2 separate regions of the Homo sapiens genome follow, and region 1 is linked to region 2. Evidence: promoter capture Hi-C in 16 types of primary human blood cells and fetal thymus (Javierre and others, 2016). All regions are on one chromosome and are shown on one strand. Each heading gives the region's core, a stretch centred on a gene start or on the middle of the fragment in contact. The rest is flanking DNA. Distances are from core to core; before and after follow the strand shown. Region 1 holds the start of IGSF11-AS1 (IGSF11 antisense RNA 1). Region 2 holds the start of B4GALT4 (beta-1,4-galactosyltransferase 4).

What was found. The method cuts DNA at HindIII sites, captures the fragments that hold promoters and counts their contacts. A CHiCAGO score of 5 or more calls a contact.
Region 1: the fragment with the promoter of IGSF11-AS1 here is called in contact with the fragment with the promoter of B4GALT4 in region 2 in 4 of 17 cell types (non-activated CD4 T cells, naive CD4 T cells, activated CD4 T cells and 1 more); the score reaches 6.8 in non-activated CD4 T cells.

What each region holds. Positions count from the first base shown.
Region 1 is chr3:118,941,507-118,945,190 of GRCh38, reverse strand. It overlaps IGSF11-AS1 (IGSF11 antisense RNA 1), which reads right to left and starts at 2,115. Exons shown (of 4, transcript NR_046230.1): 1 at 2,005-2,115; 2 at 201-329. The region is part of intron 1 of IGSF11 (immunoglobulin superfamily member 11); the gene reads left to right. The HindIII fragment of the contact is 7,141 bases long and covers 385-3,684 here.
Region 2 is chr3:119,239,628-119,243,705 of GRCh38, reverse strand. B4GALT4 (beta-1,4-galactosyltransferase 4) reads left to right here and starts at 2,828. Exons shown (of 8, transcript NM_003778.4): 1 at 2,828-2,856. All of the region lies in intron 3 of B4GALT4-AS1 (B4GALT4 antisense RNA 1), which reads right to left. RefSeq lists silencers at 1,962-2,011, 2,662-3,141. The HindIII fragment of the contact is 11,429 bases long and covers 2,126-4,078 here.

The DNA.
Region 1 (3,684 bases), core at 866-3,365, 300 kb after region 2:
GTATGTTAGGTTATTTTTTGAGATCAAATTCAATTGCTATTTATTAAAAACCTCCTTTGTGCAAGGCATTTAATGTATTTTTCTTCAAAGTGATTTTGTGAGGCAGATATTTTTATGCCTTTTCTTAAAGATGTCAAAAAACTAAAGCCAACAAGTTAAAATAATGTGCCCCAGGCTACACAATTAGTCAGTAGCTGTACCTGGATTCTATGTCCTGTGCTCTTTTCAGCATTCCTCAGAGGCTTTAAGTAGGAGTTAGGAAAGGCTCTGGAGTCACACTAGACATTGTTTTGAATCCCAGTTCCATCTCTGGGTCTCAGTTTCCTCATCTGTAAAATACGATTAATAATCATATCACCTCCAAGTCTTGTTTGTTACTAAGCTTTATATAAACCGCCTAAAACAATACTTGGCACATAAGTTCTTGATGAATAGCATCAAGTACATTGAACATCAAATATATTGAACATTTACTGTATTATGGTCTCTGTGTGCTGAGACCCGAGCATATAGGTTCTACTTAGAATCAAATTGAGAAAGGCCTCTATTAAGAGAATTTAAAGTGTCGTGACTATATCAAGGAAGTACAGGGTGTCATGAGGGCATTTAAAAAGGAAGGGTAGTCTGTTCTGGAGGTCAGCAGAATTTTGAAATCTGAAGGATGGGTAGAAATGAGAGGGATCGTGTGTGTGTGTGTGTGTGTGTGTGTGTGTGTGTGTGTGTGTGTGTGTGTATTTCAAGCTAAGGCAATAGACCACATAAATCTTAGATGGGAGAGTGCAGTGTGTTGCTGAACCTGAGAAAAGCCCACTGTGGAAGAAAGTACTGTAAGACTGGCTGGAAGAACAGGCAAAGGTCAGATTAAGCAGAGCCTTGAAGGTCATAGAAAGTAAACCTAGATACATTGTATTAGAACCTAATGATGATGCCATATTACCTCTATCTCTATTCCTAGACTTCAAGAGAACTTCTAAAAGGATAACCAAACTCTTTACTTCCACATTTAAAATATTTGTATGTTAAAAACTGAAGAATGCTTTAAACTAGTTAGAAGTTAAATTAGTACTAACACAAACATATCTAAAAATCAAGAAAAATTTTAAAAATAGTGTTTAATTTGGAAAGAAGCAGTGTTACTGGTGAACAAGAATAAAATATTTCAGTTGAGCCATTTTTAAAAAGAATTTAATTGGTTTCAGAATGTAACATCCTTCCTGATGGTTTCAGATGGCTTTATTTGTTCATAAATAACTCTACTTGTTGATTTAGCCACTTTTGTCATATGAATGCTTCATTAAACAAATGGAGCTTGCTCATTATAGCCAAGTAGAGCTATATTCAACCAAGTGGTGAAGTTGAGAGTACATGGTTGTATTTAACAGCAAAGGCCCTTTATCTGGCCTCTTGCCATCTGGAAACTCTAGATAGCATTTCCCAATATAAATCTCAATGTAGTAACCAGACTGATAAGGACATGCAACTATAGCATCACAATGTCAGAGAGTGTTCTGTATACAGGAAAGAAAAATACATTCTTCTCACCCTATTCATTATCCAAGTTAAAAGCCTAGATTTTCAGAAGTCCTTTAGAAAGCTAAGCAGCAAGAAATTTTATTTTCTCTGAAAAAGGCCAGTCACATGGAAGTTCAGATTTGGCTAGAGGGTTATCATTGTAATAAAAGACAATCCTGAAATAGCGAAAAAATAGCCCCTAGATTCTGTCAGTTTTCTCTGCCCATTCCCTGCCTTGTCTTTAAACTATGATTTCTGAAATTTTTGAAAGCACAGAGATCTTTTTTAAAGTCCTTATATAATGCTTAGGGCATTAAGATTTATTTTTAAACTTTACTCATCATTTCTAGGCTCCACAAAGTTTTGTAAGAAATGTCTATCTGTTTTTTAAAATGTCAAGTTGAATTCAAATCTGAGACCCCTTTTTAAAAAAATCATTGTGATAATTATCAATTATTGAGGCTCCCCTCTATATGCTGCAGTCTGTCTTACAGAGCCACAATGCTGGGAGGACCCCTCTGGTCTTCTGTGGAGTAACTGCTTTTTGTTCGAGCCCCTTGTTCAAGCCCGCAGGATCCTTTGTGTTGCTCTGCAGCTTCTGTGCCTTGTAGGACACATGGAATGTTGTGATGACCAGAGCTCCAGTCTCCAGGACAGCCATACTCTTTGAGGCACCATTATTTCCTTTGTCCTCTGAGCAAAGGAGAGCATGCATCTCCTCTTGTCAAGGAACTTGGCCAACTTCCATTCCCCTCCCAGTAGTATTTTTTCTCCTTTATCAGGCTCAAAGGCAGCCCCTCCTACCTCCTCTGCCCCACTGTAGCTTCCTCAGTGAGCATAGGCTTCACAAGAGACAGGAAGCCTGTTGGTCTTCAGTAGTTTCATCTTTTCACCCTGCAAAGCCGACAAGATAAAGGAATACACAGACAACTTGACAAAGATAGGCTTAGAAGAGGTAGGAGAGAAGAAGGAGAAAGACATAATTGTTATTGTTTTCATTTGTTGCTTGCTGTAGTCAGCATAGTCGTATTCATGGCTGACAAATCATATTTTGAATAGTATTTCTATTTGGAGGAATTCCCACATTATGAGTCTACCTCCCCAGTGTTAGAAATGAGAACTTAAATTTCTGGCCTCTTGTGTAGCTTGGACTTCGGCCCTTCAGTCAGATTCACATAGAGAGTCTCTGGCCCTGACTTGAAAGAAGAAACTTGAAAGAAGAAACGTGACAGAACAAGTTCTATGTTGAGCTTCTATTGCTAGCACAGATAGCAGCATAAGAGTATGGCTTTGCAGGATGGTAGTGTTGTAGGGTTAAGTGCCTGATATAGCACTGGGACATCATTCGTAGTTGCAGTAAAGTTTTGGCATTTGGGGTTTGGTGACAGGGACAGTTGCAGCAATTTTCTTAAGCCAGTTTTACAGTATAGTTATGGATGTTTTCCTGGAAGATTAGCCCTTAATTTGTTTTTCAAGCCATTTCCATGATTCTGTGAGCTTCCCAACATACCTTTTTCTAAAAAAACATTTTTTTAAAGTATAACTTACATACAATAAAATCCCTCTGTCTAGGTATATAGTTTGCTATGTTTTGACAAATGTCTCGTCTTGTGTTCACTACCATAACCGTGATGTACACTATTTCTGTAACTCCAAGGACTTCCCTTATGCCCTATGTAGTATTCTCTGCCAAACTTTAACCCTCAGTCCCAGCTCCAGCATCTGGCAACTGCTGCTTTGTTTTCTGCCTGTATAGTTTTGCTTTCTCCGTAGATTTTTTTTTAATGGATACATGCAGTATATAGCCATTTGTTTCTGGATTATTTCACTTAGCACAATAGCTTTAACATTTAGTCATTTTGCATATATCAGAAGTTTGAGGTTTTTTTTGTTCATAAGTAATATTTCATTAAATGGCTGTGTCACAATTGTTTTATCCATTTGCAAGTTGATGGGCATTTGAGTTGTGTCTGGTATTTTGGCTATTACAAATAAAGATGCAGTGAACATTTGCATATAGGTTTTTCTGTAGATCTGTATCTTTACTTGTCTTGCATAAATATCTAGAATTGGAATTGCTAGATTGTATAGTTAAGTGTACATTTAATTCTGTAATAAAATATGAAAATGTTTCCAAATGACTGTACTACATTTCATTTCCTTCAGAAATGT
Region 2 (4,078 bases), core at 1,579-4,078:
CTGAGTGATTCTTTTTTTTTTTTTTTTTTAGATTAACTTGCTTGGCTCCTTTATTATTCTCCTTTATTATTAAACTTCCTCAGCATAATGTGATTTGGGCAGACAGAGATGTTATCCTGTGGCTTATTGTTGGCCTACATTCTCTTTTTTTTTTTTAAATTTATTTTTTTTTTAGTATTTATTGATCATTCTTGGGTGTTTCTCGGAGAGGGGGATTTGGCAGGGTCATAGGACAATAGTGGAGGGAAGGTCAGCAGATAAACATGTGAACAAAGGTCTCTGGTTTTCCTAGGCAGAGGGCCCTGCCGCCTTCCGCAGTGTTTGTGTCCCTGGGTAGTTGAGATTAGGGAGTGGTGATGACTCTTAGCGAGCACGCTGCCTTCAAGCATCTGTTTAACAAAGCACATCTTGCACTGCCCTTAATCCATTTAACCCTTAGTGGACACAGCACATGTTTCAGAGAGCAGGGGGTTGGGGGTAAGGTTATAGATTAACAGCATCCCAAGGCAGAAGAATTTTTCCTAGTACAGAACAAAATGGAGTCTCCTATGTCAACTTCTTTCTACACAGACACAATAACAATCTGATCTCTCTTTCTTTTCCCCACATTTCCCCCTTTTCTATTGGACAAAACCGCCATCGTCATCATGGCCCGTTCTCAATGAGCTGTTGGGTACACCTCCCAGACAGGGTGGTGGCCGGGCAGAGGGGCTCCTCACTTCCCAGACGGGGCTGCCGGGCAGAGGGGCCCCCCACCTCCCAGACGGGGCGGCGGCCGGGCAGAGGGGCCCCCACCTCCCAGACGGGGCGGCGGCTGGGCAGAGGCGCCCCCCACCTCCCGGACGGGGCGGCTGGCCGGGCGGGGGCTGCCCCCCACTTGCCGGGCGGGGCGGCTGGCCAGGCGGGGGCTGCCCCCCCACCTCCCGGGCGGGGCGGCTGGCTGGGCGGCTGCCCCCCACCTCCCGGACCAGGCAGCTGCCCGGCGGAGGGGCTCCTCACTTCTCAGACAGGGCGGCCAGTCAGAGACGCTCCTCACCTCCCAGACGGGGTGGCGGCGGGGCAGAGACACTCCTCAGTTCCTAGACGGGTCGCCGCCGGGCAGAGGCATTCTTCACCTCTCAGACGGGGTGGTGGGGCAGAGGCGCTCCCCACATCCCAGATGATGGGCGGCCAGGCAGAGACGCTCCTCACTTCCTAGACGGGGTGGCGGCCGGGAAGAAGCGCTCCTCACTTTCCAGACTGGGCGGCTGGGCAGAGGGGCTCCCCACATCCCAGATGATGGGCGGCCAGGCAGAGACGCTCCTCACTTCCTATACGGCGTGGCAGCAGGGCAGAGGCTGCAATCTCGGCACTTTGGGAGGCCAAGGCAGGCGGCTGGGAGGTGGAGGTTGTAGCGATCCGAGATCAAGCCACTGCACTCCAGCCTGGGCAACATTGAGCACTGAGTGAGCGAGACTCCGTCTGCAATCCCGGCACCTCGGGAGGCCGAGGCTGGCAGACCACTCGCGGTCAGGAGCTGGAGACCAGCCCGGCCAACTCGGCGAAACCCCGTCTCCACCAAAAAATACGAAAACCAGTCAGGTGTGGCGGTGCGCGCCTGCAATCCCAGGCACTCGGCAGGCTGAGGCAGGGGAATCAGGCAGGGAGGCTGCCGTGAGCCGAGATGGCGGCAGTACAGTCCAGCCTCGGCTCGGCATCAGAGGGAGACCATGCAAAGGGGAGACGAGGACCGTGCAAAGGGGGGAGGGAGATGGGGAGGGAGACAGAGAGGGGGAGGGGGAGGGGAAAAGCTGAGTGATTCTTGCAAAAGGTATATATTATGCTTCCAGGCATCATATGCTCAAGACCTGGGGACTATGTGGGTATAAGTAACTGATTGTATAACGCCACTGGATGAAATCCAGTAATGTCCTTTTTCACTAAATGTGGTTATACACCCTTACAGCATGTTACAAAGGGAACACAAAAAAATAAGTTTCACACTGGACCTTGTTCAGGAGCAGTGTTGACCTATTTCACTGACCTATCCTCAACTGCCACTAGGTGGCCCTCTTTTCCAGCTTCCAAGGGCCTACATTGGGCCTATGCGGCCTCAGTATAGCCTCAGATTTCCTGCTATGAAGCTTAATGAGCCCAGCACTGGCTCTAGCTATGGTTTGTTCCTTTTTGGGTGGAGTGGATGTGTGGTTCTTGGAGAATCTACTACTTTCCCGTGAGTGCAGTGGGAGACTGCATTAGAGAATCTAGCTATCCTGACTGCCTAAACAGAGCCTACCATAATTTTTCACTCAAATCTTTAGTGTAAATATAATTGTCTTTGCTTTCTGTAATAATATCTTTGAAGAAATACGGATTTAAAAAAATCATTTAATATTCTCAGACCTGCAACATGGGAAAAATATTATTATTATTATTATCATTTTTGCAGTTGAGAGGGCTGAAATCTCGCAGGGTGATTAAGTTTATTAGCCTCTCTAAAGTCTCAGTTTCCCACTCTGTAAAATGGAAGGGTCCCTATCTCTTTCCTACTGCTTTGTGAGTATTTAAGGGGATGGAATTTGGGAAGCGCTCAGCACCCAGTCTACTATTGGCACAGGGTTTTAAAGCCACCCAGAGGCCGAGGCGTCAACCCTCCGTTTCCCTCCCGGTGCTCCTTCCAGCGCCCGGTGTGGTCGATTTGGCGGGGGTGGAGCGCCAGGCGCGTGCAGAGCCGGGCGGACCAGCCTCTCCGGCCAAGGCGGGAGGCGGAGCTCGTACTCAAGAGCCGCCTCCCGGGCGGCTGGGGCGGTCCCCGAGCTGCTTTCCGCGTTCTCCCCTCTCCGCGGGCAGTGCTAGCTCGCCGCGGCCGCCTCCGGGGTGAGTACGCTGGCTCCGCCGGCGCCCGGGAAATGCAGTTCCCTGGACACGGGCGCCGTGCGAGGGTAGCCGGGCGACGGCCGGGGTCAGTCCCAGGGCTGTAGCGGGGCGGGCGTGGGGATGACGTGGCGGCGTCCGTGGGGCAGTCCCGCCTCAGCCGGAGCGGTGGGCCGGGCCGGGGGCCTACGGAGGCCGAGCCTGGCGGGAGGCACCGGCTCAGGTGCTGGCGTTCCGCGCGGCGCCGCCTCTGCTGCGGGCCGGGGGAGCCAGACGAGGTGCTGCCGGGTAGGAAAAAATCCAGGGCTCATTCATACCCCAGGTCACGATTCCGGGGTCGCCCCCAGCACTTCTCCGCCGGGTGCATCAACCTGAAAAAGCCCCTTCTTCCTGGAAACCCTCCTTCTCCAGCGTTTCAACGGGGAAACTGATCAGCTGACACCAGCCCCAGTCCTGCGAGGGGCCGGCGACCTTTGACCTTTCTCCAAAGGGGTTGGTCACCTGGATTATAAAAGACTTCGGAGACAGCCATCCAGTGTTTGTTGATCTGTATCCCTTGATGTTCTGTCTTCCATTAGATAAGGGCTGTTAATTCTTGGTTTGAAAAAAAACAGACAAAGTCCAAAGGACTCTGCATCGAGGAGAGGCCTATGGGTTGGTAGCCTTAGGAGAGTAGTTATCAACAGTGGGTGGGTGTGCACACTGTTGCAAAGTGTTCCAGAGTGGGTGAGGGATGGGGACGTGGCGGTGGTGAGGGTACTGGTAGACCTCCTCAGCCGTTTGGTGATGAAAAGGAGGAAAAAGAAAATGGTAATCTGAGCGTGGAGGCGAGTTGTGGCTTTTTTTTTTTTTTTTAAATTTTTAAAGAAAGGAAAATAACACCTTTAAGATGCAAGAAAATCAAGGAGAGATCAGGATGAATAGGATTCAGGGTCCGGATTGAGAAACTGGGATTCAGAAGGGAGGGCTATTCCCGAGACCCAGGCGGGGAGTGCTGGAAGGTCTCTCTTGGGAGAGGAGATAATGCTTGATTGGATATAGTTCAGAAGTTTTTGGAATTTTGTCTTCTAGAGCAGGTTTGTTCTTTATGGAAATTGTAAACCCCATGAAATTGCAATAACTTTCGTCTACCTATAGCTTTGATCAGATTGAAAACATACGTTGTGAAAAAGTACTGACCTGGATTGAACTGTTTGACTACATAATCTAAGGGGAAGTGGATAGA